5 separate regions of the Homo sapiens genome follow, and regions 2, 3, 4 and 5 are each linked to region 1. Evidence: promoter capture Hi-C in 16 types of primary human blood cells and fetal thymus (Javierre and others, 2016). All regions are on one chromosome and are shown on one strand. Each heading gives the region's core, a stretch centred on a gene start or on the middle of the fragment in contact. The rest is flanking DNA. Distances are from core to core; before and after follow the strand shown.

Evidence for each region. Contacts are between HindIII fragments. The CHiCAGO score rates a contact against its expected background, and 5 or more counts as called.
Region 2: a contact is called between a fragment that was not itself captured here and the fragment with the promoter of BTF3L4 in region 1, in 6 of 17 cell types (fetal thymus, non-activated CD4 T cells, total CD8 T cells and 3 more). The highest score is 15.5, in fetal thymus.
Region 3: a fragment that was not itself captured here is called in contact with the fragment with the promoter of BTF3L4 in region 1 in 1 of 17 cell types (naive CD4 T cells); the score reaches 5.9 in naive CD4 T cells.
Region 4: a fragment that was not itself captured here is called in contact with the fragment with the promoter of BTF3L4 in region 1 in 9 of 17 cell types (non-activated CD4 T cells, fetal thymus, naive CD4 T cells and 6 more); the score reaches 11.7 in non-activated CD4 T cells.
Region 5: a fragment that was not itself captured here is called in contact with the fragment with the promoter of BTF3L4 in region 1 in 1 of 17 cell types (naive CD4 T cells); the score reaches 5.5 in naive CD4 T cells.

The regions. Positions count from the first base shown.
Region 1 is chr1:52,054,897-52,057,596 of GRCh38, reverse strand. It overlaps BTF3L4 (basic transcription factor 3 like 4), which reads right to left and starts at 1,302. Exons shown (of 6, transcript NM_152265.5): 1 at 1,218-1,302. It overlaps TXNDC12 (thioredoxin domain containing 12), which reads left to right and starts at 2,406. Exons shown (of 7, transcript NM_015913.4): 1 at 2,406-2,597. The coding sequence starts at 2,501. RefSeq lists enhancers at 387-1,098, 1,099-1,812 and silencers at 878-1,117, 1,978-2,382. The HindIII fragment of the contact is 3,174 bases long and covers 1-1,722 here.
Region 2 is chr1:52,700,190-52,703,031 of GRCh38, reverse strand. No RefSeq gene overlaps it. Among named protein-coding and RNA genes, the nearest start is that of COA7, 3.3 kb to the right of the region's middle. RefSeq lists an enhancer at 1-154. The HindIII fragment of the contact is 3,859 bases long and covers 1-2,842 here.
Region 3 is chr1:52,922,734-52,925,433 of GRCh38, reverse strand. It overlaps the pseudogene LOC100652967. Among named protein-coding and RNA genes, the nearest start is that of ECHDC2, 2.3 kb to the right of the region's middle. The HindIII fragment of the contact is 2,507 bases long and covers 161-2,667 here.
Region 4 is chr1:52,727,183-52,729,882 of GRCh38, reverse strand. The region is part of intron 1 of ZYG11B (zyg-11 family member B, cell cycle regulator); the gene reads right to left. Among named protein-coding and RNA genes, the nearest start is that of ZYG11B, 2.1 kb to the right of the region's middle. The HindIII fragment of the contact is 1,993 bases long and covers 323-2,315 here.
Region 5 is chr1:52,636,938-52,639,637 of GRCh38, reverse strand. The region is part of intron 1 of SHISAL2A (shisa like 2A); the gene reads right to left. Among named protein-coding and RNA genes, the nearest start is that of SHISAL2A, 5.1 kb to the right of the region's middle. RefSeq lists an enhancer at 2,112-2,271. The HindIII fragment of the contact is 552 bases long and covers 1,111-1,662 here.

The sequences.
Region 1 (2,700 bases), core at 53-2,552:
ATCAACCTCTACTTTATTGCACCCATCATTCCTATCTGTGATGTCATCTCAACATCTGCTAGCACCAGCAAAGTATAAATTACAAACGAAACAGTTCCCTCCCTCCCATCTTAATAGATTAGGAAATAAGGGCCCAGAAGGGAGAAGTCCCTTCCTAGGCCCAAAAGGGAGAAGTAACTTCCTAAAGCCACATGATTAATGAGTTCTTCCTTGGGGATTCCAGGATCTTTTAGCACTGTTCTCAAGGACTCAAGAAAGGGTGTAAACAGGTTTATATTTATTAAGTGCCTAAGTTAGAAGCATTGTGGTAGGCACTTTCACATACATCATGTTTACACAGAGATAAAAATAATTGCAACCTTGAGTCCTGACTTTTTATTATGTAGGGTTTCTCTAAGACAAGCACAGGCTTTGGAATCAGAAAGACCAAGGTTCTACCAGTTGGGAAAGGTATTTTTCTTCTCTGAACTTGTATTCCTCCTGCATTTGGAAAGGTATAACACCACGTACTTCACAGGGTTGTTTTGAGGGTTAAAACATTATCAACCACAGGGAATGGTTCACAGAAGATACACAGTTACTGGTAACTATTGTTACCACTCCCGAGGGGACAACTATGGTAAACTGCAAGAATGTGGGAACGGAAGTTGAAACCGCCATTCACTAGCTGTGCAACACTGAGCCTGTCGGTCAGCAGGCAGTGGGAGGGGGGTTATAAAGATGGGCAAGGGACGCCGACTTGTAAACAAACACTGCCATTACAAGGTGAAGAGTGCTGTAACTGAGTTCGGTTCCCTGGACTCAAGGGCGGGAAGTGGTAACCTCAGCTTCCCTATCTGTAGACTGGGAGCATCAAATGAGATGACAACAGAGAGCCTGTATAAAGCTCAAAGCACACAACACTGCTGTTGTGAGCAAGGAGTAATGGAACAGAGGAGGGGCGTCCACCTGCCTCCTGGGACAGGGTCTGGGCGGCAACAGGGCGGGCCCGCTCGCTCCCACAGGGGGCGGTGGTGCTGGGGACCTTCCCACAGGTGCCGACCCCCAGCTGCGCCGCCGGTAACCGACAGGCCAAGCCAGCCGCCTCCGCCCCCGCTCGCCGCACCACGGCGGAAGTGGCAGCCTGAGCGGTTGGCGGGTGTCGGAAGGGGAGGGCGGGGGGAGACCGTGCGCAGCGGCCTATGGCCGTGAAGTGGCGGGACCGCCGGGGGTCTCACCTGAAGCAGGGAGGGTCCTCCAACACCAGCACGCGGCAAGAGAAAGATGGCTGCCTCAGCCGAGACAGAGAAAGACGACGGCGGCGGCGGCGGCGGCGGGAGCAGATCCACGTGATACAGCCGACCCCGCCTCTCCCTCTCCGGGGCAGCCTATCCCGGGAGCGAACATCTGAACTCCAACGCCCCGCCTGCTTTGCGCATCCCTCTTAGTGCTAGTGGCGGCAGGTGCAGGTGGCCGCGCGGCATCCTGGGGCTTGCAGTCTCCCGAGCGTTCTGTTGTGTCCCTGCCTACAATTTTAGGGAACCTAATAAAAGGGTGGTCGGTATGTTTTTATTTGGGTGTGTACTTTTGTTAGGTCGCTTTTTCGCTATGCATTAAGTACGGACTTTAGGACTCAACTAGTACCAGGAAGAAAAAGACCGGACATTTTCACCTGTTTGTTATACAGCGAAGGGGAAAAATTGGGAAGAAATCCTCAAGCTACAAGAAAAATAACCAGAAGCTTTACACTTTAGCCTGCAGTGACTTATATCCTGGTGTCCTAAGTCCACCTAAGTCAGTTTTGCAATAAGAGGTCCCAAGTTTGGTTTTCTTGGAGCTTGCATCAGTTGGTTGCATCATCCCTGAGTAGAAGATTTGCGGTTGCAAGGAAAAATAAGGTACAGAGCTTCTCCAGCGGGAAAGTGCATGTCTGCACGGCACGAGCCCACGCACCGCAGAACAGGCTTGCCAGGTCTCCTCAGAGACCCTCGCAGGAACCTAACAATGAAATCCAGTTGTCCAGTCTTGATTTGTGGAGGGGTAAGGAGAATCCGAGGCCAGTGGGCAATCCGCCCACTGTTGGGAGCGACTGACCTCACGAATCAATAATTTGCTTTTGACTAGGAAGTGCAGCGGTTCTTGGGGGGAGGGGCTGGACTGGGTGGCGGACGCGAGGAGCAACGGTTCTCCCGAACCTCTCCCCCGCCCCTACTATCTTGGCCTACATTTTCCCGCTCCGTCCCGGGACCTGGACACCCAGAATCCACGAAAAGCAACTCGCGCTCGAGAACAGCTCTCGTACCCTTCTACGTGATCTGCACCTTTAAGCTCACTCCATCCCAAACCGGACCCCGGAGGCACCACCCACATCCGTCTAACATCACTTCCTTCAGAGTTTGAAAAAAAAAAATCTGGGAAGTAGAGGTGTTGTGCTGAGCGGCGCTCGGCGAACTGTGTGGACCGTCTGCTGGGACTCCGGCCCTGCGTCCGCTCAGCCCCGTGGCCCCGCGCACCTACTGCCATGGAGACGCGGCCTCGTCTCGGGGCCACCTGTTTGCTGGGCTTCAGTTTCCTGCTCCTCGTCATCTCTTCTGATGGACATAATGGGCTTGGAAAGGGTCAGACCGCGTTCTTATCTTCTCTTTACTGATCTTTACTATACTGATCCCAGTATAATCTCTTCTTGCCCTAGCACCGTTCCCCTCCCATTCTAACTCTTAG
Region 2 (2,842 bases), core at 261-2,760, 650 kb before region 1:
CCTTTACCAACGTGTAACCCTTTGGGAGAGGTTTAGCGGGCTGTGTGACCTGGTGGAAATCACTTTACTTATCTGGACCTCCTTTATAAAAAGGAGGTATTAAGACCTATCCCGAGGCCTGGAGCGGTGGCTCACGCCTGTAATCCCAACGCGTTGGGAGGCCGAGAATGGATAATCTTTCTAACAAATGGTGCTAGAGTAATTATAAACCCACATGCAATAAAGTGAACCTCAACTGTTATCTCATACCTCATACAAAAATTAATCTGAAATGGATCATAGGCTTTCTAAATATAAGATTTAAACCATAAAATTTCTACAAGAAAATATAGGATAAAATCTTAGTGACTTTGGGTTTGGCAAAGACTTCTTGAATACGAAAGAAAAAGCACAAACTATTAACAAGAGGAAAAAAATCAATAAACTAGACACACCATTAAAATGAAAAACTTTTGGTTTTGAAAGACACTGTTATAAAAACAAAAAAGGCAGGCCAAACTGGGAGAAAATATATGCAAAACTTCTGATAACGGACTTGAATATATAAATAACTCTTAGAATGCAATAATAAAAAACAATCCAATAAAAAGGGGGCGAAAGATTTTAACAAACATGTCATCAAAGATACACAGATGGCAGATAAGCACATGAAAAGATGCCAACATTATTGGTCACTCAAAAAAATACAAACTAAACCTATGATAAGATACTGTTATATTCACTATAATGGCTAAAATTTTAAAAGACTGACCACACATCAAATTATGGTGAGGATGTAGGGCAACTAGAACTGTCAAACACTGCTGGTAAGAATGTAATGGTAGAATCACTTTAGAAAACAGTTTGGGTGTTTCTTAAAGTTAGATATATACCTACCATATGATCTAGCCATTCCACTCCTAGGTATGAACCCCAAAAATGGAAATGAATGCCCATACAAAGACACGTACACAAATATTCACAGCAGCTTTATTTGTAAGCCAAAAACTGGAAACCCAAATGGATAAACAAATTGTGATATATCTACATCATGAAATGTCATTCACTAAGAAAAAGAATGAACTATTAATACGTGTGGTAACATGGATGAATCTCAAAATAATTATGCTGAATCGAAGAAACTATACAAAAAGAAACAGTACTTACTGTATCATTCTATTTAGATAATATCCTACAAAATGCAACCCATCTTCAGTGACAGAAAGCAGATTAATGGTTGCTGGGGAGGGAATGAAGTACAAAGTCACATGAGGAAATTTTGAGGTGATGAATATGCTCATTATCTTGATTGTGATAATGGTTTACAGGTGTATACATATGTAGAAACTCATAATTGTTACTTTAAAGTTATGTGCAGTTTCCTGTATGTCAATTAGACCTTCATTTAATGTTTCTTATAGCTTTAAGAAAAACCTGGGTCAAAAGAGCAAGAGTCAGTGATATTCTAAGTTCCATTAATGAAAACCAAATTATTTGGAATGATAATCCCTCTTCTTAATTCAGTCAACAATACTTGGGCACCTAATATTGCTGGGCACAATCAAGACACTGTTATTATAACAAGAATGAGCTAAGACCACATGGACGATGTCAAATTGAAGCAGAGAACTTAAGAAGGCAAGCCAAAAAAAAAAAAAAAATACAGGGGAAAAGCACTCTAGGGCAGAGGCAACAGTTAGTTCAAACGGATCACGAGGTCAGGAGTTCGAGACCAGCCTGGCCGATATGGTGAAACCCCATCTCTACTAAAAATACAAAAATTAGGCGGGCATTGTGGTGGGCGCCTGTAATCCCAGCTATTCAGGAGGCTGAGGCAGGAGAATTGCTTGAAACCGTAAGGCGGAGGTTGCGGTGAGCCAAAATCACGCCACTGCACTCTAGCCTGGATGAAAGAGCAAAACAAAAAAAAGTGACCTCTTACTTGGTTGAGCCTCTCATCACCAACTAACTCTCTTGTGCCCTCTACCGCTCAGGTGATCTCATTTCAATGCAGTTCAACTCAGAAAATAAAGGGAAACATTCCCAGATTTTAGTAATCGACATCACCCTGCTCTATTCTATCATCAAGCCCTATTCTATTCTTGGCCCTGTGACCAGCATACAGGACACAGAGGTCACAGTCTGGTGGGGAACACAGACTTTCATGCCATTATTGGCATGACAAGAAACATTCCTGGAACAGGAATGACTTTGAGCCAGGCGCTCTGCCAAGCACATTGCATACATGAACTTGTAGTCCTTCTGACAGCCATTACAAATGGATCTGCATTTACAGAAGAGGATTCAGACTCACAAACATGATTGGTTTAAGGTTACAATTTAATAAACATGGAACATGGATTCTGAACTAAGATCTGTCCCCACTCCAAAGCCAGTTCTTTCTTTCCTACTACACTATACCAGAATAAACCAAGTGGTGTGGAACACCAAAATGGGAGCATCTAAATCTAATTTGAATGTGTGTAATTGTTGTGTCTGGGAAGACTTTACATAGGAGAGTATTTCCGATTTGTGTCAAAAAGGGTGGTCCAGGCATCAAGAGCAGAGGTAAACAGGGACACAAACTTGGGATCTATTCAGAGAACAGAAGGTTGGTGGGATGTGGGGGAAGAGAGGCAGAAAATAAGGCTAGAATCAGATTGCACAGGGTCTTGAAGGCCATCCTAAAGAAGATGACCTCAAACCAAAGTTCAAGGATTCCCATCCTGGGCCATGTGTACTGAGGAGTCCCCTAAGGTGATCAGGGTATAAGAAACCACAGGTAAATGTGGTATATTGCCTGGAATGTCAATTTTACTCAAAGGCTTGGGGGAGAAAAGGCAATCTTCTGTTATCCTATGAA
Region 3 (2,700 bases), core at 165-2,664, 870 kb before region 1:
CCACACCAAGATGCTTCAAAACATTATTAAAAATGTTTGGATCCCCATGAAGCCCTATTATAACCAAGTTTATCAGGAGATTTGAGTAGGAATGGGGTTAATGAGCCTCATCATTTATAAAATCAGGAGTACTGATAAAATAAGTAAAATATTGAAAGCTTCTCCACCTGCTTATGGTCATCACTAACCAGCTTCACTTAGCATGCACATGAAATGAAACATTAGTCGACCTGTGAATTTAAGCAAGCTATGTTAGAAAGGAACCTGGAAAATCACTGTACACTTATATAAGTACCACTTACTTTGTGGCATGAATAAGTATACCAAAAAAAAACACCCAGAAATGCCAGATAAAATACAATAAATATCATTTTAAGCTGGGTGTGGTGGTACGAGACTGTAATCCCATCTACTTGAGGAGCTGAGGCAGAAAGGCTGCTTGAGTCCAGGAGTTCAAGGCTGCAGTGAGCTACGATTATGCCTGTGAATAGCCACTGCACTCCAGCCTGGACAGCATAGTGAGACCTTTTCTGTTAATACAAAAAGACAAAAAGCAGCGAGGCACAGTGGCTCATGCCTGTAATCCCAGCACTTTGGGAGGCCAAAATGGGAGGATTGATTGAGCCCAAGAATTCAAGACCAACCTGGGCAACATAGCTCCCTATCTCTAAAAAAAAAGAAGAAAAAACAAGAAAAATCTTTTTAAATGGGTGGATGCCAGGCATGGGGGCTCACACCTGTAATCCCAGCACTTTGGGAGGCTGAGGTGGGAGGATCACTTGAGGCCAGGTGTTTGAGACCAGCCTGGCAACATAGGGAGACCTCTGTCTCTACAAAAAATTTAACAATGAGCCAAGTGTGGTGGCCCACTCCTGTAGTCCCAGCTACTCGGAAGGCTGAGACGGGAGGATCCCCTGAGCCCAGGAGTCTGAGGTTGTAGTGAACTGACTGCACCACTGTACTCCAATGTGGGCAACAGAGTGAGACCCTGTCTCAATAAAATAGAATACAATAAATGCATGGAATATGGAGGAGGGAAGGTTTTTCTTTTAATCTTATACCCAATTATAGTTTGTATGTTTTGTTTTTGCTTCTTTTTTTTTTTTAAGACAGAATCTCACTCTGTTGCCCAGGTTGGAGTGCAGTGGTGTGATCTCAGCTCACTACAACCTCCACCTCCTGGGTTCAAGCGATTCTTGCACCTCAGCCTCCTGAGTAGCTGGGATTACAGCTGCCCACAACCACGCCTGGCTAATTTTTGTATTTTTAGTAGAGACAGGGTTTCACCATGTTGGCCAGGCTGGTCTTGAACTCCTGACCTCAGGTGACCCACCCACCTCAGCCTCCTAAAGTGCTGGGATTACAGGCATGAGCCACCGGGCCTGGCTAGTTTGTATGTTTTGATTTTGTGTATATATTAGTTTTATTTTTGCTAAGGCATGTTTTTAATTTTTGTTATTGTGCTTTGTTTTCATTTTCATTATTTATTTTGAGTAAGTTATACTTAAAACAAAAATCAAGATTCAAAAAGTATAAAAGGGGCCAGGCATGGTGGTTCACACCTGTAATCCCAGCACTTTGGAAGGCCAAGGTGGACAAATCGCCTGAGCTCAGGAGTTCGAGACCAACCTTGGCAACATGGCAAAACCCCGTCTCTACAAGAAATACAAAAATTAGCCAATGTTGTGGCATGTACCTGTGGTCCCAGCTACTCAGGAGGGTGAGGTGGAAGGATCACCTGAGCCCGGGAGGCAGAAGCTGCAGTGAGCCAAGATACTGCCACTGCACTCCAATCTGGGCAACAACAACATCCTGTGTCCAAAAACGTATAACAGGTCAAACCGTAAAACTTGTCTCTCTTACCCTTATTCCCAGCCTCTCGGTTCTTCTTCCCTATCCTTCCAAAGATGTTTTATGTAAATACAATCAAATATACACATGCATACTCTTATCCCCCTTGTTAACACAAATTTTTGTTTTCTTTATTATTTCTTTCAATAGAGGTGGGGTTTTGCTATGTTGGCTAGGTTGGTCTTGAACTCCTGGCCTCAAGCAATCCTCCTGTCTCGGCCTCCCAAAGTGCTAGGTTCATGAGCATGAGCCACCAGACCCGGCCAAATTTTAGCTTTCTTTACACACTATTCTGCATTTTGACTTGTTTCATATACCAATAGATTTTGAAGATTGTTTCATATCAATGCATAAACAGTTTCCTGTGTTTTGTTATAGCTGCATAGTATTCAGATTATTGATGTACCTTTTTTTTTTTTTTAAGTAGAGATAGGGGCTTGCTATATTTCCCAGGCTGGTTTCAAACTCCTGGCTTCCAGGGACCTACCTGCCTTGGCCTTCCAAAGTGTTGGAATAATAGGGTGAGCCACCACACACAGCCCCATAATTTATTTAACCAACCCTCTATTGATGGATATTGAGACTGTGATATAGTTTGGGTGTTGGATCCCTCCAAATCTCACGTTGAAATATGATTCCCAATGTTGGAGGTGGGCCCTGTTGGGAGGTGACTGGATCATGGGGACAGATCCCTTGTGAATGGTTTAGCACCATCCCCTTGGCGATAAACTGGGACCTCCCCACCTAATTTTCTTGTTCCTATTCTCGCCATGTGACATGCTGGATCCCTGTCACCTTCAGCCATGATTGTAAGCTTCCTGAGGCCTCACCAGAAGCACATGACAGCAC
Region 4 (2,700 bases), core at 70-2,569, 670 kb before region 1:
TGAGCTGTGATCATGCCACTGCACTTCAGCTTAGGGACAGAGCAAGACCCTGCCTCAAAAAAAAAAGAACTGCCACCTCTCAGGCCCTGCCCTCAGTTCACTGCAACCTCCACCTCCTGGGTTCAAGTGATTCTCCTACCTCAGCCTCCCGAGTAGCTGGGATTACAGGCATGTGCCACCACACCCAGCTAATTTTTGTATTTTTAGTAGAGACGAGGCTTTGCCATGTTGGCCAGGCTGGTCTCGAACTCCTGACATCTTAAACATCTCAACTATTCAAACACAACCTAATTAACATTTAACAAATATAAAATACAAAGCTTTATAATAATCATTCATTCAACTGTATTTATTATCTACAAAAATATTGCACGAGAAAGTGGCCTCTACTGATAATTCCTAGCTCAAAATAAGCTAATATTCTGCCTTCTCCTCACCTCTCCCATACATACACTGTTACTCTGTGTGTATATGTTTTAACAAGCAAGGAAAAATCAAGTTAATTAGATGCAAAGTTTAAAACATAATCATGCCTAATATGTCTGCTGTGGTCTGAATTCTGTCTCCCTAAATTCATATGTTGGAATCCTAACCCCCAAGGTAATGGTATGAGGAGGTGGGGCCTTTGGGAGGTGATTAGATCACCAGTTAGTGCCCACATGAATGGGATTAGTGCCCTTATAAAAGAGACTCCAGAGAGCTGCCTGGCCCCTGCCACCATGTGTGAAAACAGTGAAAAGGTGACTTAGGAAGAGCCCTCACGAGACACTGAATCCACTGGGGAACTGATTTTGGACTTCCCAGCCTTCCAAACTCTGAGAAATAAATTTCTGTTGCTGACAAGCTACCTAGTTTATGGTATTTTGTTACAGTAGATTGAATGGGCTAAGACAGTATCTTGCTAGCCTCATTTCCTACTACACATCTCCATTCTTGCATCCTTCCATGCTATATAAGGGTAATACTACTTCCTACAATGCATCCTAATTCCTTCCTACTTTCTTTCTTAAAAAAAAAAAAATCCCTGTGAGGGGATCCTTTCTACTTGCTACTCACATTCACAATGAGGCATTCTTCCCCTTCCCAAAATGATCTATATAAATCCTATTCAACTTTCAGGCCCAGCTCAAAGGACACTTTTAGATCCTAAATACCTCAAAGGGGAGTTCATAACTCCTCCCTCTCATACATTCATTCTCAATGGAAGGGCCCACACTTTCAAAAATCTAGCAGTGTAATGTCTTAGGTAGGATAGCTCTTTATTCTGAAAAGTATATCATCATACCTCACTCAATATCATTTTTGCATCAAAATTAAGATTCTCTGCCCAGGCGTGATGGCTCATGCCTGTAATTCTAGCACTTTGGGAGGCCAAGGTGGGAGGATGGCTTGAATCCAGGAGGTCAAGACCAGACTGGGCAACACAGCAAGACTCCATTTCTACAAAAAGTTTTACAAATTAGCGGGGCACGGTAGTCCGTGCCTGTGGTACCAGCTACTTGTGAGGCTGAGGTGGGAAGATCACTTGACCTCAGGAGTTCAAGGTTGCAAAGAGCCATGATTGTGCCACTGCATTCCAGCCTGGGCCACAGAGCAAGATCGTCTCCAAACAACAATTCTCAAACTCACTCTTTCTGTGTAGTCCACTAGTTACCTCAAATTTCAGTTTAAGTTTATATTAGTCAGGTGGGAAATGAGACCATAAAGTGAATCATTCAAGCACCTAGCTGGCCTGGGCACTTGGAATAATAAGTAAGGAACGGTTGCTACCTAGAACTTACATTCCACAGGGAGAAACAGGTTAGCATACAACAACAGTGTGTGAAAGTGAAGGAGACAAACACAGGAAAATGACAGACTAAAAATGCAGGAGTGAGTTAGGGAAAATTCATAGATTAAATAATTTTATAGTATATTACTTTTCTAAAAAACTGCTGGAGGGAAAAAAAGAAACTGACTAACCTCCTAGGGGAACATAATTATCAGGACTTAGTTTTGCCTTATTCCTCCCAGAGACCAAAATTTAGCTTGTTGCATATGATGGAGCAATGTTTTCAATAAATGTACAGCAAACCACTTATAACCCAACTCAATGAAAAAACCAACTGAAGCCTCAACCTATTTTCAGACAGAAAGAAAATTTGCAAATATAAGGTTCTCCCAACTAAAGGCAGACAGGGCAAAACAAATGAACTCTTTAGAAGGTTTAAAGAGACTGTCACAACCTGCCAACCTGATTGTCAGTCCTCAAATGCCCTTGGTCTCTGCCTCCAAATGAAAACAAATCATTTGTTTTTAGTAATAATAGCCAAGCTTGTAAATAAGTATTTTTAAACTTCTCCAACTGCACCTCCACATTAAAAGATGCTCAAAATAAAAAAAATTCAAAACATTTTTTAGCTATTTCTGTCAAAAGACTAGATCTCTCCTGAGGTCACAGTATGCATGCTGGCCCTCACTTCACTGCTCTGTAACACACCACCACTTCGATTTTGCAATGACACTAGGTGAATAGGCTTCCAGGATCTCTTCAATGCCTCCAAAAACGAAAAGGAAGAAGCAAACCTATAAATCCCTATCTGCCCGCCCTACAGCTCCCGGGAAGCAACAGTCCTCAAATTGTTCCTGCTTAGACCCCTGAAGCCCGTAGAAGGAAATGGGGACAGCTGCGACGGCGAACCGAGCGAGGACATCCGATAA
Region 5 (2,700 bases), core at 137-2,636, 580 kb before region 1:
GGGACTACAAGCACCCGCCACCACGCCCGGCTAATTTTTTGTAATTTTAATAGAGACAGGGTTTCACCGTGTTAGCCAGGATGGTCTCGATCTCCTGACCTCGTGATCCGCCCGCCTCGGCCTCCTAAAGTGCTGGGATTACAGGCGTAAGCTACCACGCCCAGCCTAGATTTTAATATCTAAGATAATGGATAAATCTTTATGAACTTATTGATAATATTAATTGAAAAGAGCAGGACACACTACTAATTACATGGCATAACCCCAATTTAACTAAATAAGTATACATATATGCATAACTATACACATGTACACATGCAAGGTTGATGGAGATACACCAACTAACAGGCTGTCTCTGGGTATAGTTCAGGATGTGGATGTCCTGTCTGGGGCCCCTTGGATCTTATCATTGTGGAATATTCTGATACTCTAGCCAAAGTTTCCTTCTTTTTTTTTTTCTTTTCTGAGACAGGATCTCACTCTACCACCCAGGCTGGAGTACAGTGGCACCATCATGGCTCACTGCAACCTCAACCTTCCGGGCTCAAGTGATCCTCCTGCCTCAGCCTGTTGAGTAGCTGGGACTACAGGCATGTGCCACCACACCGAGCTAATTTTAATATTTCTTTTTACAGACTGGGTTTCACCATGTTGCCCAAGGTTGTCTCCAACTCTTAGGCTCAAGCAATCTGCCCGCCTTGGCTATCCTGGCCAAAGTTTCTATTGCAAACAGCTGTTACCTCTTTGTCTGAGGGGTTTCTTGGGCCCAGAACAGGCTCTGTGGACACACTGGCAAGTCAATAGTGCAGGATAATCAATACCTTCCTTACCCCACCAGCCCATGACCGATGACTGACAGAAATTGTTAGCTAAATATCCAGCTTCCTGGCCGTCAGGTGGGATAACCCTGAGGAGTACATTCTACACTGGCTGGCAGAGTTTAAGCTCCAGTTACCTCTGGTGTAATTTGCTTGGTAATACACCCATTGTTGGCTTCTTTCTCTCCCTGTCTCACTTTCTTATCCTCTACCAGTGATTTTTGGGATCACTTTCCACATAAACTACTTGCCATCAAATCCTCATCTCAGAGTCTCCTGGTGAATCCAAGCTTAGACACTGGATTACTCATGACTTCTTTCTCTTTTCATTTCTCTTGTCCTTTTCACATTTTTTACATTGAGTATGTAGGGCTTTTTAGTTCTTTAGTTACTTTAATTAAACATTATTTTCTCATTTGAGATATGCTTACTGTTCGTAGGGCTGTTATCTAGGAGAATTGTGCTTTGCTTGGGACCCGTGTGTGGGACAACTCTGGGTTCCTGGATAGAAAGGGGCCTCTAAGAGAGGCCCTTTGAGGAGTGAGGGGGAGAGTTTTGTTTGTCCCTGTCTACCATTCTTTCTCCAGCTTTCTTGCCCATCCTCTTCCCTGACTCTGGGGTGATACATTCCAGATCGGAGGTCAGTCAGGGGGCAGGCACTGTCTCTGCTGGTCTGTCCTGGTGACAGAGGAACTAAACTCCAAGGACAGAGTTGGGAACAACAGGGCAGGCTCCAAAGAAGGAAAATCTGTGCTTGGCATGAGATGAACTTCAAATGATCCGAGTTGTTCCATGGTGAATGTACTGCCTCAAGCAGGGATGAGTCCCTGTCATGGGAGAAGCTTGTGCAGGACACACGAATGAGTTATATCTTTCAGTGAAGTTAGAGATTCCTACCCTGGGTAGGAAATTGAATTAGAGAGCCTCGAGTCTTCGAGGATTTTACTGTTCTGACTCTGAAAGATAAAAACCCACTGTGACTCCTAAGAAAGAATTGGAGGGACAATCTAACAACCAAGGGCTTTGGAGTCAGGTAGTTCTAAGTTCAAATCCTGGTTCTGCCACATTTAAGCTGAAAAATCACTTTACCACTCTGACCTTCATTTTCTTCCTTTATAAAGGTTTCTATCTCACCAGGTGGTGGGAAGGATGAAATGAGGTGCTGTAGACACGGTCTGACCACAAACTCTGCCTTCCGGCAAGGCTGCTGTCTTCTGGCTCACACCCTCGTAAAAAAACAGAACTAGTGATGGAGGAGGGTGTTTGGCAAGTGGACCAGACGGTGTGACAGCACCAACTGCTTCTCCACAGGGTGTCTTCACTTCCTGAGGCACAATTTTAAAGATAGCAATTCTCCTTGAGCACTGTCTCTCCCAGGAAACAGTGCTTACCTGGAGATTTTGAAGTTTTTAAGGACTGACTTTCATGAAAAGGGCCAAACGGAATTTACAGCAAAACAAGGTCTCCACCCTGCAATATCCGGGCTCTGTTAGGAGCATGCCGGAAGAGTTATTTCAAGGTTCAGAGCACGTTGATGCCCTAGACATCCTGAGGACTTTCAGTTCCTCTCCTGCACTTTGCAATTGTCTGTGGTATTTATGAATCACATTATGTCTGAGTCCAGGAAGAGTCACCCTAGAGCCTTTAGCCACCTTGGGGTCACAGAATGGGAACACACTGACATGGGATGTTACCCCAGAGATCAGCCCATCCAACCCCCGAAGAAAGCATTGTCTGAGCCACTAAAGCATGCCACGTCAGAGTTTCCAGGGCAACGGAAGGGACCACAAGACACAAGAGCTGTGTAGGGAAGGGGTTAGTGGAAGAGGGAAAGGGTCCTGGCTGGGTGCTGAGAGAATTACTCACCTCTGTGTCCCCAGGG